6 separate regions of the Homo sapiens genome follow, and regions 2, 3, 4, 5 and 6 are each linked to region 1. The links are contacts of gene promoters, found by promoter capture Hi-C in blood cells and fetal thymus (Javierre and others, 2016). All regions are on one chromosome and are shown on one strand. Each heading gives the region's core, a stretch centred on a gene start or on the middle of the fragment in contact. The rest is flanking DNA. Distances are from core to core; before and after follow the strand shown.

The links. The method cuts DNA at HindIII sites, captures the fragments that hold promoters and counts their contacts. A CHiCAGO score of 5 or more calls a contact.
Region 2: a fragment that was not itself captured here is called in contact with the fragment with the promoter of ATG14 in region 1 in 1 of 17 cell types (fetal thymus); the score reaches 10.7 in fetal thymus.
Region 3: a fragment that was not itself captured here is called in contact with the fragment with the promoter of ATG14 in region 1 in 1 of 17 cell types (total B cells); the score reaches 7.0 in total B cells.
Region 4: a fragment that was not itself captured here is called in contact with the fragment with the promoter of ATG14 in region 1 in 4 of 17 cell types (fetal thymus, naive CD8 T cells, monocytes and 1 more); the score reaches 7.8 in fetal thymus.
Region 5: a fragment that was not itself captured here is called in contact with the fragment with the promoter of ATG14 in region 1 in 1 of 17 cell types (total B cells); the score reaches 5.6 in total B cells.
Region 6: a contact is called between a fragment that was not itself captured here and the fragment with the promoter of ATG14 in region 1, in 1 of 17 cell types (fetal thymus). The highest score is 7.4, in fetal thymus.

Annotation. Positions count from the first base shown.
Region 1 is chr14:55,409,084-55,413,773 of GRCh38, forward strand. It overlaps ATG14 (autophagy related 14), which reads right to left and starts at 2,747. Exons shown (of 10, transcript NM_014924.5): 1 at 2,519-2,747. The coding sequence starts at 2,739. It also overlaps a transcript of FBXO34 not described here and the pseudogene RPL21P6. RefSeq lists a silencer at 2,737-3,036. The HindIII fragment of the contact is 5,042 bases long and covers 2,163-4,690 here.
Region 2 is chr14:56,470,752-56,475,109 of GRCh38, forward strand. No RefSeq gene overlaps it. Among named protein-coding and RNA genes, the nearest start is that of TMEM260, 110 kb to the right of the region's middle. The HindIII fragment of the contact is 3,945 bases long and covers 155-4,099 here.
Region 3 is chr14:57,392,671-57,397,005 of GRCh38, forward strand. It overlaps NAA30 (N-alpha-acetyltransferase 30, NatC catalytic subunit), which reads left to right. Exons shown (of 5, transcript NM_001011713.3): 3 at 4,082-4,205. Among named protein-coding and RNA genes, the nearest start is that of NAA30, 4.3 kb to the left of the region's middle. The HindIII fragment of the contact is 665 bases long and covers 2,371-3,035 here.
Region 4 is chr14:56,575,100-56,579,670 of GRCh38, forward strand. It overlaps a transcript of TMEM260 not described here. Among named protein-coding and RNA genes, the nearest start is that of TMEM260, 2.4 kb to the right of the region's middle. The HindIII fragment of the contact is 280 bases long and covers 2,191-2,470 here.
Region 5 is chr14:57,284,594-57,289,049 of GRCh38, forward strand. It overlaps AP5M1 (adaptor related protein complex 5 subunit mu 1), which reads left to right. Exons shown (of 8, transcript NM_018229.4): 7 at 1,630-1,726; 8 at 4,209-4,456. The coding sequence ends at 4,291. Among named protein-coding and RNA genes, the nearest start is that of AP5M1, 18 kb to the left of the region's middle. The HindIII fragment of the contact is 4,333 bases long and covers 634-4,456 here.
Region 6 is chr14:56,489,878-56,494,353 of GRCh38, forward strand. No RefSeq gene overlaps it. Among named protein-coding and RNA genes, the nearest start is that of TMEM260, 88 kb to the right of the region's middle. The HindIII fragment of the contact is 1,437 bases long and covers 1,376-2,812 here.

The sequences.
Region 1 (4,690 bases), core at 1,497-3,996:
ACGTAGTCAGGAGAGAAATGATGGTGGTCTGAACTAAAACTCGGATAGATTCAAGATATATTTTCACATCAAAGTGAATTAGACTTGCTGAGTTTTGGATGCAGAGAGGAAGAGAAAAAGAAAAGTATAGGATAACTCCCAGTTTTCTGGCTTTAGTAACAAATGGATCATGATGAATAATACTGAAACGGTCTAGAAACTGAGTTTGGGAAAGAGGGACAGAGTCAGTTCAATCATTCCATAAATCTTTATTGAGTTTCTACTATGTGAGAATACAACAGTGTATAAAAGAGAAAAACTCTTGCCCTCATAGAGTTTATATCACTGGGGTGGGGGCAGTTAGACAAATTAATATGTACAACCATCACATGGTGGTAAGTGTTATGGAAAAGAAAAGATAATAAAGCTGGTTAAATACGCATGAGGTTAGCATTTTAATAGAAGGATCAGAAAGAGTCTAACGTATGAGCAGGCACCTAAAAAAAAAAACAAAGGAGGCAGCCCTGAAGATTTCTGAGAGAAAGAGTTCCTGGCTGTCTAAATACCACTGCGAAGGTCCTGAGGAAGGAGTGTTCTTGGTATGTTTGAGGACAGACAAGGAGGCCACAGTGGCACAGCAGATTAGGTAAGGGAGAAAATAATAGGAGATTAAATCAGAGGAACAGATAATATAGAACTTTGGTTAAGGACTCCAGCTTTTACTTTGGGTAAAGTGAAAAACCACTGGAAGATTTGAACAGAAATGGAGGAGTAGCATAACTGTGGCTGCAATATGGAAATTGTACAAAAGGGGAGCAAGGACGGAAGCAGAGACATAAGAGGAAATAAGTTTATGTCTCTGGTAGATTGGACCAGGTGATGGTGAAAGGGTAAGATTTAAGATAAGTTTTGAAGAGTAGATGGGATTTGTTGTAAGATAAGTTTTGAAGAGTAGATGGGATTTGTTGATGGGACTAAACAGAGTTGGGTTAAGAGAGGAGTCAAGGAGAACTGAAAGGTTTTTTAGCCTGAACCAAAGGAACAATGAGATTGACATTTACTGGGTTGGGATGAGCATGGGAAAACAGATTTATGATGGAAAACAAGGAGTTCAGTTTGCCATATTAAAATGAAGATATCTATTACAAATCTAAAAATATTGATGTTGAATAAGCAGCTGTTTTCTGGACTTTAGAGAAGACTAGGTTGGAGATACAAGTCTGGCAGTCTTAAGCATATAGATGGTATTTAAATTATGTGAATAGACATAGTAAAACGTGTAGACAGACAAGAAGGTCCAGAACCAAATCCTCGATTCACTCCATCAGTTAGACATTTCCATCTCATACCCCGTATTCTTATAACTGGTTTAATTTTTAAAGCTATCACTTACTACATAAGCAGTTTCTAAAGTCATCAAGAGCACCAATAAGACACAGCAACAAAACTAAAAAAGAGTTTGTCATTCAAACCTCCTCAAAAGAGAAAGGAAAGAACTCCATCCACGATCACAGAAATACTAAGAACTCAAAACATTCCCAAATATAGAGGATATAAAGTCTAGTGGTTAAGTGCGGGTACATAGGTCCAAGCTGTCTGAATTTTAATTCTTGTACCAACACTTAACTATTTGTGTGACCTGGGGCAAAGCACTTACTGTGCAGCTTCCTAATAAGTTGGGGATAAGTCATTCGGTTGTTGCGAATGAATTAATACCTGAATTTTTGTGCTCAGAATGCTAGCTATCTTACTATCATTGACTATCATTGACACTAAATTGTTGAAACATAAGTTGAGAGTGGGAGATCCTGCAGCTAATCACACTAATTTTTCAATTTTCTTAACCAAGAACTTGTAGCTGTTTAGATTTCGAAATGAAACCAAAACATTTTCCTAAAGGCAATTCTCTTAACTAAAAGCATGCAGCTCCCAATCTGAATTTTAAAACAAGGCCAAAACACGTTCCCAAATTCCTAAGAATCTAAAATAATCTTTAGAGGCAGGGAGGGGAAAGGGGCGTTAACAGCAAGCCTCAATTCACACATTAGAGTAAGCATGTCTGATAACAAAGTCCATCTGTGACAGACTACCAGGCCCAAATCCCTCTAAAGCAGTTATTTGATTCTCTTCTACTCTCTCCTCTAGAGAATGAGTATAAATATGCTTTCGAAAATAGAAAGCCAAGCTTTTGAATGGGAGTACATACAGCAAAGAGCTGGGAATCTAACTTAATGGCAGCAACGGGAAAACTTCTCCAGAGAGTCACCACTTATTCCTTTTTTCCCCAGTGACCAAGAGCACCGTGGGGTCAAACTCCTCTTGGGTGGGTGATGGGGAAACGGCGACCTTCCCTCATCTGGCCCCTACGCTGTCCTCTGGTAGCAAAGCTCCGGTGCAGAGCAGCTAGCTACACTCCCTCTCTCTCGCTCCTCTCGCTGGTATCTGGTGCCCGGACGGGGAGCCCCAGGTTCCAGCCTTCGGCTGCCTGGCTGGAGGACACACAGCAGAAGAAACAATAGGGCCGTGGCGGCCGCCGTACCTCTCCCGGTCGCGGCCGTCGAAGTAGACGAAATCGCCGCTCTGAACGCATTTGGCGCAGGTCAGCCGCCGGCGGGTAGTGTTGCACAGCGGGCAGCGCTCCACAGCCACGTACAGCCCCTCCGCATCGTCCACGGAGTCCACCAGGTCCCGGGCGAGCGGCCGGGGCCCGCAGCCAGGAGCCTCCAGCGCCCGGGCTCCCTTCCCACTGGGAGACGCCATGATGGCCTGAGAGGAGAGCCAGTCACGTGGGATTTTGTTTTCAACCGGGTGCATTCTGGGCCAGGAGGAGGGGCCTGGGGAAGGGGGGCTGGGATGCCGGCGAGCCCCCGGACCCCTCCGCCGCCGCGTGTTCCTGTCCCGGGCACTGTTGTTTTTCCGGTCTGCTGAGGGGCAACAGGTCCCGAAGCAGGGGGAGAGTTATATTAGAGGGGCTAGTCGGCCAAACAAAATGTCATCTGCTGGCTCAGGCCAAGACTACGAGTTAAAGCCTCAAACTTGTGCAGAAAATTGTAATACCATACCCTAAGGATTCTGGGAAAACGGAATGGGAGCGGAATAAGGGAATTTAACTTGCTGTGGATGCTTTAAAATCTGGCTAAACTACAGCAAACAAAGTAGGGTGAAGGGGCTGGGTCTTGGAACTAGGTTGAATTTTGGCTCACTCACCTGCTTAATAGCTGTGTGACTTGGGGCAAGTTCCTTAATCTCTCTGCGCCTGTTCTCTCGTGTTAAATGGATAGAATTATAGTACCCATCTAATGCCGTGAGGATTAATATGGTTAATAGTATTATACTTTACCAATAGTGAAAACAACCAAAGTGAACGTGCAAAATCAGAATTGTATCCTTCTGAAAAGTTAATCACGTGGCTAACGTACCTTCCCTACCCTGGGCCATGCTCTAAGAGAATTTGAACTAGGTAGATGGTTAGGACTTCCCTTCAAGTTTCTTTTGGTGGATAGGGGATATATAAGGTGATGTGTTGGGAGGATCATATCAGAGTAATTAGTGTTTGAATATGCCTCTAAACTACAGAGAAAAGTGAGTTTATAGGTGAGATTAAATAGACCAGTGATTCTCAAGGATGATTTTACTAGGCTATCTACTGATAAACTGCCCTGAATTCTCTCTCTAGCCAGGATTCCTTTCTCAAGTTCCATACCCAAAGATCCAGAACTACTTACTAGGTATCAGGTGACATTCCAGGACACCACAAACTCAAAGTGTTGGAAACTGACTTCTGCCTCCCTACAAACCTGTTTTCTTACTTTGGTAAAGGACGTAATCACTGATGATTTACAGCCAAGAGCCATGATTCATATTAGCCCGTCCCTCCCTGTTAATCTCCACATCACCATCGAAAACTGGTGATTCTACAAGCTAATTAGGTCTTGAATCTGAGCCCTTTGCTCCTCCGTCTTCTTAATCTTACCCAGTCTTTTTAAATACAAATCACGTAGGATTACAAAAACAAGCAAAAGCAAAAATTCTCTATATTCAGAATACAGTTTACACTAAACTTGAATGGTTCCTGAAAGTTTAAGATTTATTTTTAAGTGAGAAGTCTTTCTCTCTGATCATTTCAAACAAAAGGATTATTTTTTAAGGTCTCGGGCTTATGTTTCATTTGTATTCAGACAGGATCCTTCACAGTGCTTAATACCTAATGATCAGGATCAACTGTTCAATATTTTAAAAGGCAAAAAATACACATTAATTCCTATCGTGCTAGATGATATCACAGATAGTATCTAGCTTATGCAGTTATTTGAAACTCCTATATGTTGCTATATATTTTCAGAGAACGCATATTAATGTATTACTTAACAGCAGAGCACTGAGGTTTTTGGATACAAAATGTAGTTTAAATATTTCTTTAAGGGGAGGGGGCGGCGCCACACTTCTCAATGAAGAGAAACATTTGTACAGTTCAGAATTTTTTTTGACACCTATTATGCCATGAACTCATAGGGAATAGGTTCCAGCAGCCCAGGCTCCCTCCATTGGTTCTAAGTGCTTGTCTGGGTGGAGCAGGCTGGCGCTTCAGTTGAACTCAGACACCTCTCCCTTTGACGTCTTTTTCTGATTATTTACCTTCACGCGTTTCAGGAAACTTACTTGGCTCTTAGAGTGCCAAGGCCCAGGCAGATGGATCAACTGAGGTCAGGAG
Region 2 (4,358 bases), core at 877-3,376, 1.1 Mb after region 1:
GAGCTTTCTACAAGGTTGGTCAGCCAGGGTGCTTTGGCTTTGATTCTGGGTGGGTGCAATACTATAGTCTCTGTATGATTTCTTTGGCTATAATCCGCCTCAGTGACTTCTGTGATTTTCTCAGTGGTTTAGGCTGCAGTGGAGCCTGAGGCAAAGCTTTGCTGGGGATGGGGATGACATGTGGGCCAGTCTTTAGGAACCAGTGGTGGCAGTGGCAGGCCTGGTGTGCCAGTCCTTGGAGGCCTGGGAGGTGTATGCTGGCACTGGCAGTGGCAGGTCCAGGCAGGCACATCCTTGTGCCTCCAGGCGGCTTGCTTAGGTGCAGGCAATTGCAGTGGTGGGCTGGGAAGGTGTGTTCTCAGGCGCCTGGGAGATGTGCATATGGCGTCAGCAGTGGCAGTAGCAGTGGGGGGCCAACCTTCAGGCCCCTGGGTCACTCACATGGGTGCCAGCAGTGGTGGCAGCAGGCTGAGCAGACCAGTCACCAGGTCCCCGGATGGGAGCTGGCAGCGGCAGCAGCAGGCTGGGTGAGCATGGTCCAGGGGTGCAGCAGCGGGTAGGATGGGCCTGTCCCTGGACAGTGTGTGCAAGCTCCAGTAGCGGCAGCAGGTGAGCCTATCCCCAGGACCCCAGATGGCATGTGCATGGGAGCTGGTGGTAGTAGCTGGGGCGGGCCAATCCCCAGGCATCCTGACAGCTTGTGCAGAAGTGTGGTGGCTCTGCTCCTGGAGGGGCTAGGGTTGGTGTCAGTACCGCAGCCTAGGGCAGGAGGCTCTCAGGCTCTGGGGGGCACACATTTTGGCTCCCTTGGTCCCAGGGGCAGCCTCCGTGGTGCACTGCACCTGTTCTCTGGGGGGTAGGACACTGTGTTGACCAGACTGCTGGGTACAGAGCTGTGCCACTGGGACTCACCACAGTTGCAGTACTGTAGCTCTCAGGTGGACATGAGAGATCCCAGTGTGGCGCTGGGAATATGGAGATGCAGGGGCTGTGAGCAGCCAGGACAGGATGGAGTCTGGTGAGGGCTGCGCTCTCAAAATATTATTGTGCTGCAACTGCTTGGGTAGGGGAGGGGGATTGGGACCCAGCACAAAATCCCCCCGCAGAACAATGCCGTTATGTGGCCTCCAAGCAGCTCCCATACTAGTCTCAGGGCCCACAGGGGCCTAAGGGCTTTCCCATAGCCAGGATTGCAGAGTTCACTGTGGGAATGTGGACCACTTTGGATCTCTCACTTATCTTTCGCCTGCCATTGGGAATTTCTCTTGGCTTCAGGATGCTTCGCTCCCCTCTCCTTACAAGCCTCAGAAGTGCTCTGTCACTCTCTTGCTCAATTCTGGGGTTCTCTCTTGAAGTTCTGTTCGAGGTATGGTTATCTTCTTGCTGTTTTGGTCCTTCTTGGTGGAGGGTCTGGTGCCTGGTACCTCTAGCCCGCCATGTTCCCATCACTTATCCTCCCCAGCTTTTAAAACAGTTTGGAGGGTTTAGTGGTAATCCTTTTGTTTTTGCTGTCTGGCCTGGAATCCATTAGCTTGGGTGGTCCTGAATCTATATTGTTAAAAATCTATATGTATCCTTTTCCTTGCATCAATAACAGATTTTAGAAGTTTTTTTCTTTATTTCGTTTTTTTCATTTTTAGTTAGAAAAGGATATGGTGCTAGCAGCAGGATAGAAAGAGATAAAAGGCATTCACACAGCTTTTTAGGAATAAATGCCTGGAAACTCTCCAGATTTATCAATTGCATGGTTCCATTTTTATGAGAGTATTTTTAAAATTCTTTTATCATATAGGAAAGTATTTGATGTTATATGTTTTCCAAGGCACTTTTAGACACCTGATCTCATAAGATCTTTATAAGGAGCTTATTATTATGCAGAGTGTGTATTATTTTCTCTTACTTTCTTCCTTCTCTTTGCCCACCCACCCACCACAGTCTCCTGCCCTGAAATTTAATGATGATAACACTGAAATAAAGCATAGCCAGAGAAATCCCTAAACTGGCACAGCAGGCCAGTGGGGGAGCTCAGATTGGATCTCTGGCTTCCTAACTCTTAGTCCAGTGGTCTTTTTCTTTGGAACTGTAAATAAATTCTTCCACCAATGTCCATGTCATTATTCTTTGCTCTCTATTTGCCATGATCTATAGTTTTGGTGGCTCAAAATACATTATCTTCCTGGGACTGGCTCTACCAAGAGCCAAGGACATTTGTGTTGGAGCTAGCAAGGGCCACAGTTAAATGGGTGAATGAACAGGCTGGATGGAAGGACTGTGGTGGAGGATGGAGATGCCAACCTTTCTCAGAACATGAGAAAGGTCTTCCTGTGTCCAGAGTTCTGTCCATTGCACTCACACACTCTTTCCTGGCTCTCCTCTTTTCTTCTCTGGCTACTTCTGTTTTGTTTGCCGCCATCCTTCTCCACCAGGCACCTAGTGTGAGTTCCCCAAGGCTAGTCTTAGTCCCCATTTCTTTCCCTATACTCTCTTCATATGTGGATTCAACCAGGCCTTTTCTTTTCAAATGTCATCTACATGCCAATGGCTCCCAAATCAATTTCCACTCCAGACCTCTCTGTGCTCTGTCCCTTCAATGTAATTATGGACTTAATATTTCTACTAGGATGTCTCAAATTCTCAGAATGTTTCAGATAGAACTTAGGATCTTCCCTCCTCCCCCAAATTGGTTTTCCTCCAGAATTTCCTTTCTACCACACCCCATTGCACAAGTCAGTAATCCTTGGAGCTCCTCTCTCCCTCACACTCTATAGTCTGTATATAATCATGTGCTCCCATCGGGTGACTTTGACAACTTCCCACTCCATTAGCCCACCCCCTAGTCTAAGCTACCACCATCTCTCACCTGGACTGCAACAGCTTCCCACCTGTTCTACCCAAATCCACTCTCGTCCCTCTCCTACTCATTCTTTACACCAAAGTCTATGTTGTGCATCACTGTTCAACCCCCTGACTCCCTGTGCTGAGGCCGCACTGGTCTTTTAGTTCCCTGTAGCAAGACATGTTCCCATGCCTCCTCTCCACCCCCTCCCTACCCCACAACCACCATCGTCACAGGGCCTTTACTCATGGTCTACTGTATGCCCAGAGACTCCCCACCTCCAATCCACACACATACACAGCCATCTAGTTACCTCCTACTCATCCTTCAGACCTACATCACTTTCCCAGACCCAGGTCATGTTCCTTCATTAGAAACTTGTCTCCAGTCATGTTCTGGACATGTGTATCTCAGATTTGTAATTACACTCCTTCACTCACTTAACAGCTCTTTACTAAGCACCTACTTTGTGCCAGGTACTGTCCTAGGCAACTGAATAATTAGTCAAGCAATTGAAAAATAAATGCTTGAGTATTTTCTGTTACTCTCAAGTACTAGGAAACTGAAAAAATACAATATAATTACCACAGGTAATTACATTCTATGAATAATTAATTACAAGTTCATTTCTTTATTTATCTTTTTAATATCATTCCCACTCTAGGCCCTATGTTCAATGAGAGCTGGAACTGTGTATATTCTGGTCGACAAGTATCATCAGCTCTCAGTGTAGTGCTAATGCCTAGCAGGTACTAAAACATTTGGGAAATTAATGAATATTTACATTTGTAAATTAACAAGTGAATGAATAAATATAATTTGAATATTATAACCTGGCTTACATTGAACTTGTGATATTTTAATGTTTAATAAATATTGTGATATACAATTCGAAAACAATTTCATGTGTAGGCGGCAAGACAACCTTTCCCCAACTTGCCCATTAACCTGTAAAAGATGTGAATAGTTACTCCCTTCTCCCCTCACTTTTGAGAAGTGGTTTCCGAAGAGCTAGCTGAACTTTGCTGCCATCTTTTGACCAAAGTTAATACTGCAGAGATAAAAGCTACATTCCGTAGAAATTCTCATTACAGCCTCTGAGTATCAATGAGTTCTAGCTTTGTGTAAAAATGCAAGAACGTGTTGCCACTTAAGAGGAAATACATGGCCACACTCGGTGCCTACTTCTATTATATGTTTCTTTCTTTATTTGCATAGCTATCTTCTATCCACTCTTTCTTCTGTATCCCAGCACCATGGTAAAGCTTAATAAATATTTTTTTATGTGAATATTCTAAGCGAACAGTAAGTGAACAACAATTTAATATCAGGACGTGCAGTGTACAGACACCAAATAGACATTAGTTATTATTATTAACATTATCATTATTAAGACCCTTCCCCTGCAAAGTAGATGACTTCAGGAAGACTCTAAGTTCCTACTTGCTTGTGGACACCTACCCCAAACTTTGTCTCTCTCTCTCCTCTCTTCTTTCCTCTCACCCTCCCCTTCCCTGGAAGG
Region 3 (4,335 bases), core at 1,453-3,952, 2.0 Mb after region 1:
GTTGAATTTTACTACAGAAAGATGACATCCTTTTAAGGAATATTTTTTAATATGTGAAGGGAAAAGCCACCATTACTTAATGTTTTAGCATTGGCTTAGTTTCACTTGGTAATTCCCTGCAAGATATTTTGACAATACTTATCTTTTTGATTCTCTAGCTTGGTGATAATTTGAAAATGTAACCTGGGTATTGTAGATAATGGTAGTTCTATTTTCTGTCTTAACTTGCTTAAACTTCAATTCAGTACATTTGTTAAAACTGTGGGTACTACTTTATATTCTTGAAAACTGCTCTTTCAGTATTCTAAGCATTGTATCAGAATAGTTCTAAGACATGTCTGTGTCAATGAATATGAGAAAATGATTTATAGCACTATTATAAATGTCATATCAAATGCCACTGTAATTGCTAAAAATTGTAGATTTAGTTGTAAGTTAACCCACAGAAGTAGATGATTGAGTCACATTTCAAGTTGAAATAGATGTTTTTCTGTCAATTCCAGGAAATAGTTGTGTATATGATATTTAGTCAACTTTGAGTCCTGATAGTTACCTAAGCCTCTCTCAACTTGTTTGCTATTTTAGACTCTGGTCAACAATATTAGTAAACTTTAGATTTGATTTTATGTAGAACCCTCCCAATTCACCAGCTAATGTGTATGTTAGCCTTTAGTAGCTCAAGTTTGTTTAATATTCTGAGTATCTAGAATTGCGATATGCACAAGTGGTTGACCTATAAGATTTACTGGTGCAAGTATGAATCAGGAGGTATTAAACAATAATAAAACAGTAAAAAAACAACCAGGCCATTTAAAACTGAAGCCTTTATCTTGGCATACTTTTAAATTTAAGTTTCCCATAGGAACTATTTTTTTAAAAATACAGATGCGTAAATGTCTGTTTATTTTAAATCATATCCTTTTAGAACTGAAAGCCATCCTAGAGATAATCTAGCCCAACTTAGGTTTTGTTCTGTTTTGTTTTTTGATTGAAAAAAAGTTAAGAACCAAAGTGACTTAAAATGTTTCAATCTCCAGATATTTACTGACAGAGGGGTAGGTTTTGTTTTGTTTTTTGATTGAAAAGAAGTTAAGAACCAAAGTGACTTAAAATGTTTCAATCTCCAGATATTTACCGTCGGAAGGGTAAAGCTAGAACCCAGTTCTCCTGGCCTCTCATTATGGTAACAAACAAGAACCTGAAAAATGACATACCCTTGATCCATTCAGTGAAGATTATTGTGTCACCAAGTTATCTTCACCAAGGGACAGTTGCCCTTACATCAATCTCAAGAGATTAAAAACCTCCAAAATGTTCCGTTTTCCGTGGATAACCTGTAATGGGTCAATGGAGTATATGGGGTTGAACCTTACAAAATTGCCAATACTTGATTAATAAAAATGATAGCTTATTATGATTCTTCCTAATTGTAAAAGATGTAAAAAAAAAAAAAAAAAAGGACAAATGTGAGACACTTTCAGTTACTCTGTACTTAACCATTTTATCTTTACCTGTTTTCATAGTAACATTTTCAGTTGTTGGTATCTTTTTGAAGTTCTTAAACTTACTCTCAGCAAATGTAACATAGTACTTCCATTTATTTGTTCTAAATTTAACTTTTTGGCTTCCTCCAGTTTTCTATTTGTAGTGTTCTAGAATTTGGGAATCTCTCACTTTATTTTTTTCATAGTTTTATAGACTGACAACCCTTTGGCCTTGTAGTGTTAAGTCTTAATCTTGCCGGGGATTTTTCAGTTCCCATCCTTGAAAAAATACATTTAATAGCGTGAATTCCAAATGTATATGCAGAGCTTTTATTTGGAAAAATTGACAAGCAATTTAGTGATTCCTGTAAATGTACCACATATTCATGAGTAGTTTATCAGGAAAAAAAAATGCAGCATTGGTCTTCACTACTAATGTCATCGTAATGGTGTATGATATATTGGGCTTTTTAGATGATGTATACAGCTTGATTTTTGCTCCTATAGATTCTAAATTAGGAAGAAATCAGGTCTTAAGAATGAACTAATTTAATATTTTGTTTGCTTATTCCATGCTCAAAGGACAAAGATTTGTTTGAAATTCCTGTTCAGATTGAAAGTACTGTCCAGTTGTATTGTGTTTAATGGTTTTAATTTTTCCTCATTTTTGGATAGTTTTATATAAGGTGTAGCTATTCTGAGGTTTGTATCATCAATCTAATACAGGTTTTCATTTCACCTGAGCCTGGCTTATGAGGTCAGGCCAAAATTTTTTCTGGCCCTTTTAAATATACCATTTGGTCTGTGATAATTTTATGTATGTGTATGTATTTATACGTGTCTGTATATACGCACATATATTTGAAGTGAGTTTCAAATCAGAAAAAGCTTTCAGAGTTGGTCGAGGCGATTTTTGTGCATACTTCAGGTCTTTGTTTAAAAAATTTTTTTAAAAGATTGATGTATTGTGAGGGAAAAAATTAGAAATAACAATTTCAGAGGTTTATTGACCCAAAATAGTTTTGGAATGTGTGATAAACCAGAAATGAATTAGCGTGGGTTGTTGAATTTCATATTCCTTCAAAAGGATTTTTCCGACCTAGTTTAGGTTTGCATGAAATGGATTAGAATTATCTTGCTGAAAAGATTTCTCCACAGTTAAAAAAAGGCCTTTTAATCAATTTACAGAATGACAGACTAAAAAAGTCACAAATTTAAAATATGTATTAATTATAAATTGGACATTACTTATTAGTTTTTTGACTCATTTCTGCTTTTGTTGAAATAGTTTCTTCTGGAAAGTTAATTTATGGAAAACAGACTTCTTACTGACACATTATTTAAACAGTTGGAGATACTGCCCTATTTATATTTACCAGAAATACTGTGTTACTAGAACTTTTTATCAGCATTGGAATTTTTGAAAAACATTTTCAATGGTAACACTAGAAATCTTAATGAAAATGGGGGATGATTAGAATTTAACATGTAGCTTTTAATACTCTGGAAAGCTGTACGTTTTTATTAAAATAGAAATTTCTGTAAAATTAAAGCTTTTAACATAAAGCTTTGATTTTGAACTATAAATATTCTGAGAGCTTTATGACAGTTATCCACACTATCAGGAGTATCCTAAAAATGAGACTATGCTACACTTACATATATTAACAAAAACCTCTTGGGTATGGTCTAAGCAATACCTTATAAACTGTGCTTTTTCTGAAAATTTTTAATTTTTTTTTCCTGATCGAAATCTACCATTCAGGTGTAAATATGTATTATATCTGGCTTTCACTAAAACTTTATTATTAAATTTATTTTCATTTTTTTCTTTTATTGAGATGGGGTCTCACTCTGTCACCTAGGCTGGAGTGCAGTGGCACGATCTCAGCTCACTGTAGCCTCTCCCTTCCTGGCTCAAGCCATTCTCCTATCTCAGCTTTCCAAGTAGCTGGAACTACAGGTGCATGCCACCACACCTGGCTAATTTAAGTAATTTTGGTGGAGACAGGGTTTTGCCATGTTGCCCACGCTGATCTCAAACCCCTGAGCTCAAGCAATCTGCCTGCGCCTGCCTCCCAAAGTGCTGGGTTTACAGGCATGAGCCACAGCACCTGGCCATTATTACTAAATTTAACTGAATATATTTAAATTTACATTCTGCTGATGGGCAAGTTTTACAATATTTTATGTCCTAATGAATAGACTTTTTCTTTATAATCATTTTTTTTTTGCATATTTCCCCTTCCAGAACCTTAGGTCTTTGTTGCAAATAATTGTGATTTTAAGCACCTCATATGTAATCTTATAAAGTACTTGAATGTTTACCTTGTGGAATCTTGTCTTTTTTCCCTAGGCTTTAATAGTAAGCATAAAAAATTCATGTTCTAAAGAATATTGAGAAATTTTAACACTGGAACATTTAAAGGAGTTAGGGGATTTAGATTTCTGAAACTTCTGTGACTGCTGTCTTGCAAGAGTTCCCATTATCTTCCCCCGTCGAAAATGCTTACCAATGGTTGGTTGTTGTTTTCTCTGGATAATTGTGCAGTACCTGATGGCAATGTATTCTTCATAACTGTTTGTTTATTTTTAAGGCCATGGTAGGGGAGGAGTGTGTAGGTGCCATCGTTTGCAAGTTGGATATGCACAAAAAGATGTTCCGCAGAGGTTATATAGCCATGTTAGCCGTGGATTCCAAATACAGGAGAAATGGCATTGGTAAGAAAAATATTATTTTATGGAAAGAATGCCTAAGCTATTTTCATTTTTGTTGTGTTTTGAAATAAAAGACTTAAATGTAAGTATGTAGAAATGAAAGAAACTAAGGGAAGAAAATTAAGGCGGGTTT
Region 4 (4,571 bases), core at 1,081-3,580, 1.2 Mb after region 1:
CTCAGCAATAATGAGGAGCCATCTCCTTGGTTTCAACAGAAGCTAGATGCTGGCCATAAATCCCAGGAAGACTCCCAGAGCCAAATTTAGGGTACCATAGGGCCATGGATCTATGTATTTACTTTCCGTCAATCTGATGTTCTATATCTAATTGAGTGTTCCCTGGCCTCTGTGATGTTCTTCGAATGTGTCAACTTGGCTTGGCTACATTCCTCAGTTTTTCAATCAAACACGAATCTTGGTGTTGCTGTGATGGTATTTTGTAGATATGACTAAAGTTCATAATTAGTTGACTTTTTTTTTTTCTCCAAGCAGAGTCTTGCTCTGTCACCCAGGCTGGAGTGCAGTGGCATGATCTTGGCTTACTGCAGCCTCTGCCTCCCAGTTTCAAGCGATTCTCGTGCCTCAGCCTTTTGGGTAGCGGGAATTACAGGTAAACACCACCACACCTGGCTTTTTTTTTTTTTTTTTTTTTTTTTGTATTTTTAGTATTGATGGGGTTTTGCCATGTTGGCCAGGCTGGTCTCGAACTCCTGGCCTCAAGTGATTCTCCCACCTTAGCCTCCCAAAGTGCTGAGTTTACAGCCATGAGCCACCATGCCCAGCCTCATTTGTCTTCAAAACCGTGAGATTATCATAGTTAATCTGGTAGGCCTGATTCAATCAGTGGAAAGGCCTTAAGAGCAGGGATATGGGTCCCCTGATGAAGAAAAACTTCCAGCTGTGGACAACAGCTTTCTGCCATGCCCAGGAGTTCCAGTCTTCCCTTCCTGATGGCATGTGCTACGGGCTTCAGAGTTACTTAGCCAGCCCTCAAAATTACATTATACAATTCCTTGCAATAAATTGTATCATACATATCTCCTACTAGTTCTGTTTCTCTGGATGAATCCCAAATTATTTACATATTTTTCTGCTTTATGGTTTGTATTATAGTGGCTAACTCTAAGCCATCATAGAATGATGTAGAGCACAAACAATAAATCAATACTCGTTATATGTCTTATTGGTCTGTCTCAGGATCAAGTCCAACGATCACATGTTTACACATCATGTGTAAAGAGAGACATCATGAGGTCTCTCTCTTTATCTCTAACATTTTCTATCTTCAACCCTTCTCTTCTGTCCTCCTCAGTCCCATCCTCTCCAATAACCTGTACATCTTTACTTCATCACTATGTCTCTCCAAATACTCCCTTGAGTTACAAACAAAACAAGACATTCAAAAATCTTCATTTGACACTTCGATCCCTGTGAATTTTCATGCTATTTCTCTCTTTCCCTTCACTGCCAAACTTTTTGCAAATGTATTTTATTTTCATGTCTTCCATTTGCTCACTTCTTAGCCCACTAGTACCTTGTTTCTGTAGATACTACTCTACTGAAGCTGACCTCTTGAACTTTCAAGGTTCAAATACCTCCAGGTCACCAAATCCAACCATGCAGAGCCTGCTAGTTGCCCCTCAGTATCCATTCTCCCCTTCTTCCTTTGTAATAGAATTCTAGGCAAACTGTCCAGCTGAAAAGTCTATTTCGCAGCATCCTTTGCCCCTAGGAGTGACCTGTTATTCAATTTTGGCCAATTAGATATAGCAAAATTGTGGAATAGCATTTAAAAAAATAGTGCTTTTTTAAAAAAGCTGGAGCAGGCCTTTCTCTTCCCATCCTTTCTTTTTCTTCCTCAAGAACAGATGTAATGTCTGGAGCATTAGCAGCCACCTTGGATCAGTAGATGACCTTGAGAATGTGAGCTGAGTGGGATGGTGCAGAAAGATATGAGGACTTCAGCTGTGTCCCTAGTGGAATCAGGGAGTTGCCAAGCCAGTGGTAGACTGACTTCCTATAGACTTCTGACTTCTTTTATATAAGAGAATGATTGTTTTAATGTTTAAGACACTGTAGCAGGATCTGTCACTAGTAGCTAAATGCAATCCCTAACGGATATGCCAGTGATCTCTGATTGTTCATGTATTCATTTATTACATAAATATTTGTTTAGCACCAATTTTGTGCCAGGCATCATTTTAAATATGGTGGAAATTAGACAAAGTCCATCAGGTTTGACAGGCTATTTAGACATAGAAATGGAGAGGTCGGGGGCAGTTGGGTTTTTTAAAATAATCGGTCGCTAAAAAAGAGAAGCAGAGGAGGTCTAATTTTGAGAAATATTGCCCCATAGTTGCCCTTTAAAGCTTCAATATGATCATCTCGGGAAAGAAGACAGAAAGAGAGAAAAGTCTAGAACAGCCCAGGAATACTTCAGCATTTGGGGGACCGACAGAAGCAGAGCCAGGGCAGGGAGGCCATTGATAAAAGGAAAACCAAAGAGTGTGCTATCAATGAAGGCCAGAAAAGAAAATACTTCCGGGGAGGAAGGAATAGTCAGATGCTTACTGAGAGGTAGAGTCAGACATAAACAGAGAACTGGAAGTTCTTAATCTTCAAAGGAAAACAACCATGAAGCTAATGAAGCTTAGGCCTCACAGTTCCTCTCTAGCCCAGGTGTCTTCCAATATCTTGTGCCTAATTCTGTATCTGCAGTTTTATATCAGTTTACTTACATATAATTCTCCAAGTTTTATACACTTGAGCTTCACAAAATCTAGACGTGCCTCTCTTCATTGTCCTTTACCTCTCTGTAACATCCTGACCACATGTACTTCATCGACTTTTCTTCTTTAGCTTCTGGTGATGCCTCATTCTCTTACACTGTTCTCTCCCCTTCTCCAGCCATTCCCTAAATGAGAATATGGGCTGACATTAGACCTCAACCTTGTTCTCTCTACACTATCCCCTTATCAAGTTAGTCATTTATATCATCCTTACACGAGCAACTCCTAAATTTGTACTTCCAGCACTGATCTCTACCTCCCAAACATGGACAAAGAATTATTCCCCTCCAAAATAAAAAAATTTTAAATAAAACTCATGAGCAAAAGTGAAATGCATAAAAAGGGAAAGAAGTATATGCTTGACCCAGTCAAGGTTACTCATTGGCATGTTCTTTCAGCAAAGAAATAGAAGACAGCCTATCTTAACTATCTATTGCTGATAACTAACAAATTAGCCTGCATTTATCAACTTAAAACAACATTTATTATCTCGCGGTTTCTATAGGACAGCAGTCTGGATGAGGCTTAGTTAGGTCCTCTGCTTCAGGGTCATCCACAGGCTGCAATCCAAGTCTTGACAGGAGTTATAGTTATCTCAAGGCTTATGTGGGGGAAGGATCCACTTCCTAGCTCCCTCACATGGTGTTGCCTAGATTCAGTTCCTCTAAGGTTGTTGGACTGAAGGTCTCAGTTTCTTGCCAGCTGTTGGCTAGAGGCGGCTCTCAGTTTCTTCCCATGTGGACCTTTCCACAGGGCAGCCTACACCATGGTAGGTGGCTTCATCAGAGAGAACAAGTGAGAGGACAAGAGGGAGTGCCAGCAAGATGAAAGTTAGTCTTTCATAACCTAATCTTGAAAGTGACATCCATCACTTTTGCCTTATTGTATTGATAGAAGCCAATCCTTAGGTTAAGCTCACACATAAGGCGAGCAGCTTATACAGGAAGTGAGTGAGGAGGCAGGGTTATCTGGGAATCCATTTTAGAAGCACTCTACCACACAGCCCCTCTCCTCCAGGAACTCACAGTACAGCTGAGAAATTACCTGGAAAAGGCTGGAAATTGTATAAGTACCTGGAAAAGACTAAGGTGTGCTGGCCCCATGACCGTCAAGGTAGGTATATGTTACTCTATAGTTTAGTCACTGTGTCTCTATCAAATTGCGCGTAACACGTTTGAGATTGTCACTGGTTTTCAGTGTGTCTTTGAGATACATTTTATGCGGGTTGCTCTCCTCCCCGCCCACTCCAGGATAATTGCTTTAATAATAAAACATAAGCTTAAAAAGCTTAACTGCGCTGTTATGTAGTTGTCCTTATTAACGGCTCCGATTCTTTTTTTTTGCGTTACAGCTCATTGTAAAATATGGTGATTCAATTTCATTTTCCACTTTGCTGTGTTGAAAGCTCCAGCAAAACACTCCTCTTCATTAAACTAGGAGACACCTTTATCATGGTTTGAGTTATCTGCATGAATACAGGAACTCAAATTTCCCGACTCATCTACAGAGTTTTCATTATGCTATGGAATGAAAAAAAAAAAAAAAGACGCACTAGCATATTCTAATCTCTCTAAAAATTACTCAGTGATTTAATAAGTAGCACACAGACTTATTGTAATTAGTCATAGTAACGTAGTAAATCGTAATAAATACATAATTGTGATTAATGTATTTATTGGCTTACTTTGCACATACGGTAAATACACCACCCTTTTTTTTTTTTTAGCACAGGTAGGGGCTCCTGGCTGATCGTGGCCCTTTTGTGCAGTTCCACCCCGCACCGTAGGGGGCAGGAGCAGCCCTTCCTCGCTCGCGGTTTTCGACGCTGCTTTGGTCTCTGTCAGACCCAACCAAGTCAGTATAAAAGGGGGGAATAGCCATGGAGAAGGTAGGCCTGTGGCCGGGCTTGCTTTTTAAAGGGAATGCTCTCCTGGTGATTAGGAACCTTAAATCACATTA
Region 5 (4,456 bases), core at 1,550-4,049, 1.9 Mb after region 1:
GGGACTGCTGTAAAAGCTGTGATAAAATAAAGCCTTGACCACTAATTAAATACAGAGACAAGGAATGGTGTTGTTCCAAGATGATATTGTTTAAAAAAAAATGGAACTTAAACCAAACTTGACGCTTTTTAAGAGGGTAGAGACGTGAATCTCATTCATTCATTGTTTTATTCCAAATATCTAGTCCAGGACCTAACACATAAATATTTGCTGAATGGATGAATATACCTAAATTATTGATATGGAGAAAATTGGGAAGAAATGGGTTTCATATCATATTTTTTGCTGGCAATAGCAATATAGCCCATTGTAAATGTTCAGTGGGTAGCTAAAAATCTAAAGCTTGATTCTTAAGAGAAGGCTCAGCTGTATACAGGATTTAGGAATTAGCCACAGAGAACAAATAGTTGAGGCAGTGGAAATAAATAAGATCAGAAAAGGATAAAATAATACAGGAAGATTAAAAAAAACAAATGAGGGAATTGAAGGAGTGATTAGAAAGGTAGCAAGAAAACATAAAAAATGTATTAAAGACATCAAGAGAAATACAGACAATTAGGGGAAGTGGTAGTGAAGTCAGAAGTATACTGATGATAATTCATTTCTTCTATCTTGGCTTCACTTATGTCCAGAAGCTTTGTTTCAAGGATTATTATAAAAATTCCTACTTCAGATACCTTTCAGAAAAAAATGTGGAATGTTACCACACATTCTATGTCCTTCAAAAGTAGGAATTACGATTTTTCTATTCATTCCCATCACCAACCAGTTACACTCACATTGAAAGCATGTAGCACATATTTTTGTTGACTGAATGATCTAAGTGTGTTTTACAGTATTTCAGTTGTATGGAAATCAGTCTTGTCATAACTTCCAGCATTAAGAATTATACCAAAAAAGCACGCAACAGCCTTTTATTATCAGAGATAATTTGGGTTGCAAAAGGAAAAAAAAAAATTGCTGAGAAGATCTGAAAATTACATTACATTCTAAATCACATCTTATGCATTAGTTCTGTAAAAGTTAAATTTCACCCTTCTGGAAAATTAGCGCAGCTCATTCCCTCTAAACACAAGATAAACTGATGTTTCTGTTTTCATAATTAAATTATATTTTATTAGAAGGTGTATACTTTCCTGCCTGTAAAAGACTTATGATCTAGAATATATCATAGCCACATAGCCCTAGGGATAGAAGAGAATATAGGGCATGCAAGACAGTAGCACGGGGGAGACAGCACCAGCTTTTGGAGTCGGTAAGGTCTGAGTTCAAATGCCAGCTCTGCTGCTTACGTGCTGGGATACCAATTGCTTCCATCTTTGCACGTCAGTTCACTCAGCATACCTTGCAGTATGGATTAGAGCTGTTAGTGAAGTGCGTATTATGTGTTAAGTACTTCATAATGACAGCCTTACAAAAAAATGGCCCTAATGCAAACGGAAAAAAAAACTGTGTGTGTTTTTGTATATATATGTGTGCGCACACACACAATTCAAGTTTAGTACTTGTGGTTTTTATTTTGTGAACTGTGTAAAATAAATTCCCTAAGACTGGGTTAAGGGAAAAAATGTAACCATGCTTTTTACCAAATAATCACCTTAATTTGGTACATTTCTCTCTTCTTTCTAGCTTCATTTTAGGATCTTAGATTACACACTTACTGGATGTTATGCAGATCAGCATTCAGTTCAAGTTTTTGCATCAGGAAAACCAAAAATAAGTGCACGTAAGTTACACAGATTCAAACTAACTTAAGGGAATTAAAATGGTGTTTGCAGTTATTACCTAAGGTAAAATTTGAATGTAACAGAACTTAGAGATTAGAGAATAATCCCAATTTATAAAATTCTGGGCTGATTCTACCCCACATAACAGTTTGTGTACTTTACACTGCCCTCTGCCGCCTTCTTGTTTATAAAGTGGTCTGGATAAGCAAAGATTGGGATAGAGGGGAACTTCAGTGTAAAATTGGATTTGTTTTTCTCTGGTTATTCAGAGATGTGATTCACAGAGACTGTGATGTTGGACAGACAGGGCTTAAGCCTGGCTCAGCCATTTCATTAGCTGTATAACTTTGGGCAAGTTAGCGAACTTCTTGAAGTTTTAATTTTCTTGTGTATAAAATGGAAATAATAGTGCGATTTACCTCAGGATTGTTATGAGGTTTAGATAAGATTATATTGACTTAGTATGATGCTTAGTGTATAGTATAGATTTAGTAGATACTAGAGATGATTCTTATTTAAAACTTTTAAATATCTTTAGCAAATGTTGCAATCAATAAGCATTATTTAGCACCTTCTCTATTCTATCAATAGGAAGACAATAAAAAAGACGTTTCCTGATTTTAGTATGTTTAATGGTTGGTAAAGTATAGATCTATATGTGTGTACACACACACATACACACACACACACACACACACACACACACGAAACATATGAAAATATGAGACAAAAAACAATTTATAAATGAATCAAAAGTATTTAATTCAGATCAAATAGAAATATGTAACATCGAATAGTAGCTAAAATGAGGTAGAGTTATCTAAACTTAAACAACCTTTTTGCCTCATACATTAAGGAGAATAAAGCTGTTATATATGTGGATAAGAATAATCCCAATTTACACACATTTTTATTATTATAGTTAGATAAATATTTCTTAAACTAAGGATTAGGGTTCCTAAAATAAAAAGAATAGGAAAGGACTCTCCATGTACATTTCAAGAGAATTAGAGAACTCAGAACTACAGAATTCTAAGCAACTATTTGTGCTTGTCAATATAATTTCTACTATGTAATGTAACCAGAATAAACCAGTATTCTTTACTTCCCTAGGCTTGCCCTGTGTTTTCTCTTACATCATTTTTTTGTTGTATATATGAGAGACTGAAAGCAAACAGACCAGTATTTTAGATTGTCTATGGGAAAATAATTTATTTATGTTAACTAAACATACTGCAGTAATTTCCAGAGAACATAATACAAGATAGGAACATACCTGCTTCTTAATACAAAATATGTTGAAAGAACTCATTTTAAATTAATATTATGACCCATCTTTTCTTTCCTCTGTTAGTTTCAGAATGTGACTGCCAGTTTGTGCAATTATGTAAAACTTTATTTTGCCATCATCTTGACAATAAAATCTATTTTCATAATATACAACTTAGTTTAAAAATAGTTTAGTAATAATAATACCAATTTAAATAATAATGGCTAATATTTATTGCTTACTATATGCCAGGCAAAGTTCTAAGTGTTTTATGTGCATTGTCTCATTAATCCTCACAGCACCCTATGTAAGTGTTGTTATCTCCATTTTACAGATGAGGACACTGATGGAACTGAGAGATTAGGGTCCCATAGCTTGCAAATGGCAGAACTGCGAGTCAGATACTCAAGCATTCTGGCTCTGGAATCTGTCCACTTAACAGTATGCTGTCTTGCCTCTCATTGTTACTGCGTTCTCAAACTTTGAAGAGAACAAAAAAGACAATATAGTCTATATTCTTTTCATTATGAAGAAGGGCATGAAGAAGAAAGGTAGAACAGGCTGAATTGGATAATTATATTTAATTGGATATTTAATTATATATATATATAAAGAATTTACATGTGTAACTCCAAATGAACATTATTATCTCAACTTTACATATCAGAAAACTTTAGTTCAAATAGGTTGCCATTTTTGTAGAGTTTCAAAGCTATTTTTAAAAAGGCTTAAATTGATCAGAACTATAATAAGAAACCAGTGAAGCAAACTATTTAGAATGTTGCTAGGAAGTTAGGTGTTAATTTATATCTCTGACACTTTGGGTAAAGAATAGCAAGACCCAGAATCAGGGCTATGGTGATAAGGTTATAGAAGAGAAACCAATGAAAAATTTTTAATGTTTTTGCAGTCAGAGTAATGGTCCATACGAAAAAGATTTTAGAGAAAATGTGAAGATAAAATTGGCAGATTTGGCATAAATGAGAGATATTTCATATAAGGTCAAAGATGGATTCTTCAAATATTTAATGAGTCTATATTTGTAAAATGGTAAAAGTTATAATAAAGTCTTGATAATATGAAATTAAAATGAATATTTCAAAGTATTGACTTGAAATAACTGCATTCCACAATTTCAAAAATCATGACTTTGCTCTCGTTGAATTTTTGCTGAAATAGTCTTATCATTAATTTCTTTTTCTTTTCTTTAGACCGGAAACTAATTTCTTCTGATTATTACATCTGGAATTCTAAAGCCCCTGCTCCAGTAACATATGGATCATTATTATTGTAATAGTCTCATGTTTAAATGGGATTATATAATGATAACAGTTTAAAGAAAATCATAATCTTATATTTTTAATGTGGATGCATATAACCTGTGAGTGAAAAATCACTGAATGATTTAATTGTAAAAGTAGTCTTATGTGGTGTTTGTAGTCTGATAGAGCTTGAAAGG
Region 6 (4,476 bases), core at 844-3,343, 1.1 Mb after region 1:
GGCCGAGCCGCCATCATTTCTCCTGGAGGATTACTATAGCAGCCTCCTCTGTTCTCCACAAAGGATTTGTTCTCCACATAGTAACCAGAGTTTTTAAAGAATGTGAATCAAATAGTGTAATTCCCCTGCTTGATATCTTCAAAGATTATTCTCTTTGGTTTTCCAAGGCCGTGTATGATCTGGCCATCATCTGTCCTTTCCAAACTCATCTTATGCCATTCTCCCATCTACCAAGCTTCAGCAGCTCTGACCATCTTTCTGTTCCTTGAACACCTCTCATTTCTGTCTTAAACTTCTTGCTCTAGCTGTTTCTTCTGCCTAAAATGTTCCTACTCCTGATCTTCGTCTTGGCTAGCTACCTTGGCATTCATATCTAAGGGTAAATATCATCTTCATAGGGAGGACATCCTAGATGGCTCAATCTAAAGTATCTACTCAACCACTGTCTTCCACATAACTCTATTTTAATTCTCTCCAGGGCATATATCACTAAGATTTTTCTTATTTAAGTTTTAATTTTCTGTATCCCCCCATTAGAATATATGCTCCTTGAAGTGAAGACACTGGCTTATCTTCTTTGCTGCTGTACCCGGGCAGAGCCCAGAGCTGTACATGGCACAGAGTAGCTGTTCAATAACCCACTGAATGAATGGAGGCAAATTCATCCTGCATTGGATTTATATCACTATTTATCATATCATGCCGCTAGAGGGCAATACATCACCTAATTAGAATGAGGAAATCAGTGTCCCTTTCTTCCAAAAGGAACTTAATTGATTTTTAAAATTTATATATATGAGGTGTACATATTTCGAGGGTACATGTGATAATTTGATACATTCTTATAATGTGTAAAGATCAAATCAGGGTAATTGGGATATCCATCACTTTAAATATTTATTCTTTATGCTAGGAACATTTGAATTATTCTCTTCTAGCTAGATTCAGGTGTATGATTGAGCTTAATTGATTTTAATCATTAATGTGACAGACATTTATTTAAGAAAAACACTCTGAAAAGGAGCCACTAGCTTTTCAAACCAACCACCAGGCACTGCCCAGGAGAAAGAAGTTTTTTCCAGGGTTATAAGTGGTAAAATAGTTTTAAATAGACTCTGTATTATTCAGGTTAAAAAAAAACTCATATAAAATGAGAAAGCATTCATGTCCATGATATGAAATTGTTTGGGAAGTCAGAAGGAAATTAAACAATGCCTTATTTTATCCATCTTTTACACACATACACAAAAATGTATTTCTTGGCCACTATTCTTATTTTTGCTTTTTAAAGTTCGAACCCTGGACATCTCATGGGAGTAGGGATTCTGAAAGAGATTTTCTTTTTTTTTATTTTTATAATTCCATTTCTTTCCTAAGCTTTTCTTTTAAAGTAAGCAGCATGGTGTGTCTAGGATATGTCATTGAGTGCTAAGACATCCATGTTCCTGCTGACAGGTCTGCCTCGTGGTAAGAACAGCGAGAGTGACTAAGCTCCAGTGATAAGGGCAATGCTGTTTCTTGAGCCTGCTGCAGCACCTGTCATGGGAGGCAGAGAGAGCATGCAAATCCCTCAGGCCCATGTCTGTTCAATGACAAAAGGAAGGAGGATGCACTATTCCCAGTGACCTCAAGATGGCAGTGGAGAAATACTCCAAATGAATTTCCTGAGGTCACCCCCCGATCCAGCGAAGGACCACTGTAATGGTTGGTTAGCTATGAGGACAGTTTCAGCGCCACATCGGGTCAGTTACCATGACAGCTGGAAAGCTCTCCTGGAATCTATGAGTTTCTAGCTGTCCTGTCGCCAGAGATGACAAGTGACTTATAAAGGAAAAGTTTGAGCCTCCCTAGAAAAACCTTAAATTTGTTTTTAATGTTGCTGACATGACTTACTGTGGCAGAAAGGCTTCTCAGTGTGAGTGCCTATGGCCATGGGATCTTGATTGGTCAGATGAGGCTGGGACCTTTGCATTTCCAGGGCTTTGCTGGAGTAGGAGAGTGGCCTCAACTTTTCTCAGCACTTAGGAACAATGAGAATGGTTTAGGGCACCTACCATGGGCTTTGGGGGATGTATTAGTCCGTTCTTGCACTGCTATGGAGAAATACCTGAGACTGGGTAATTTATAAAGAAAATAAGTTTAATTGGCTCATAGTTCCACAAGCTATACAGGAAGCATGGCTAGGGAGGCCTCAGAAGACTCACAATCATGGCAGAAGGGGGAGGGGAAGTAGGCTCTTCTTATGTGGCCAGGAGGAAGGGAGATGTTGGGGGGAGGTGCTACACACTTTAAAACAACCAGATCTCATGAGAATTCACTCACTATTACAAGAAAAGCGAGGGGGAAATCCGCCCCCATGATTCAACCACCTCCCACCTGCCTCTCTTCTAACATTGGGGATTACAATTCAAAATGAGATTTGGGTGGGGATACAAATCCAAACCATATCACAGAAGGAAATAAGATCAGCTTTTGCTTATTTCCTTAAATTTTGTTGAGTACGGCAGGGTCTATTGAATCCTCACATCTAGTACAATAGATTACCAGCAGCTCAGGAAGAAGGATGCAAAAGGCATGAGAATGACCCCCCTCTGGCCTCCTTCAAGGAGGTGAAAGAACATTATCTCCTACACCCGTGTTCCAATTTTCAACCACAAAAACACACATATGTATGTGCATTAGCAAACACTCACTTGTTGAACACCTACAAAATAGTTATTATACTCATGGAGTCAAATGGAAATGATGCAGAATTAAAGTTATGAGAGGTATCAACAAAACGTTATTGAGAATTCAAAGGACAAATGCCTAAAGCTTTGATTAAGAGGAAATTAGGTAATATTTCATGGAGTAAAGACTGGCCATAAAAGACTGAGTAGGATTTTAGGTGGATGGAGTTGGGTGGTGAAAGGGAGGGCATCGCAAACCAGAGAAAGAGAATAAGCAGAAGTATGAAGGGAAGATCACTCTGAGTGTGTCCGATATAGATAGAGTACAGGCCTAGTATGGGAAGTAGCAGGTGATAAGGCTTTAAAGCAGTGGTTCTCAATCAGGGGAGATTTTGCCACCCAGGGGACATTTGGCAATGTCTGGAGACATTTTTGGTTGTTATAACTAGGTGAGGGTATGTTATTGACATCGGGTGAGTAGAAGCCAGGGATACTGCTAAATACCCTACAATGCACAGGATGGCTTGCCACAACAAAACTTATCCAGCCCCAAATGTCAATAGTGCCAATATTGGGAAACCCTTTTTTCGGGAAGATTGGTCTTGGTCACAGAAGACCTTGAAAATCAGGGGAAGGGAAGGGAGCTTACTTGGTAAGCAAAGAGAGTACAGAAGATTTTTAAGTGGGAGAGTGAATGTGTTGATATTATGATTTATGGGCATTATATGGATATAGGTACAAATATAACCTTTTCCCTCCCTCATCTTCTAAGGAGAAACCTTATTGGCACTACTTGGCTAGCCAGCCTTTGCTGTGCTTAGAGGGTAATAGGTAGAGATGCAGAATTGCAGAAGCCCAGGTAAACTAAATTAATCTCCATGTAAAAGGACATGGAGCCTCCCAGAGAAGAAAAAATGCAAGAGGTGGAGATGAGAGAGGCAAGAGAGATGAGTGAGAGAGTGAGGAAAACAGCACAAGATGCAGTTACAAAGAGGGAGCATCAAATTAGGTCCTGTGGGGAGATGCTAAAATAAAAAACCTTGCTTCTGCCCTTACTGAGCCCACCATCTCCTAAAGATGATGATCTTACATTAAGTAAGTCCCTATTATTCACAGAGGAAAGTATACAGTCATCTCTCCATTTGCCGGTTCCGCATCTGCAAATTCAAACCAACTATGGGTTGAAAATGTTTTTTAAAAATAACAAAACAACAATAAAAAATACTACAAATAAAAATACAGTACAACTATTTACATAGCATTTACATTTTATTAGGTGTTATAAGTAATCTAGAGATGATGTAAAAGTTATGTGCAAATACTGTGCCATTTTATATAAGGGACTTAGAGCATCCCTGAATTTTGGTATCTGCAGGGATCTTGGAACTAATCCCCAGTGGATACTGAGGGACAACTGTGTGTATTTTCACAAGGCTTTGTCGTTTCTCGGAGCTTTCACTGATGAATAAAATCTAGGTGATCTCAACTCAGGGGTAAAAGTCATTTTTGGCTGCTTTCTTTGTGGGTTTTTCTTACATAGAGCATGAAAGAAAAAACTCACCGAATCTATCCAAGTCTAGGATTAAATTATTTCTGTCTTTCGGGCTGAAGATGGATTTGATGCTGATGACTAAAGATAGCCAGTTGCCCCTTGTTACAGGTGGGTCCTCACAAATTTGGCCAGTAGAAAGCTGCAGTGGAGACACTGTTAAGACTGCAAGAATATCAGTTCCTCATGTCACAGTCAGCTGCTCTGGTCCATGCACCTCTGCCAACTTCCAGTGGCTAATAAGCTTTTGGCCCAGTG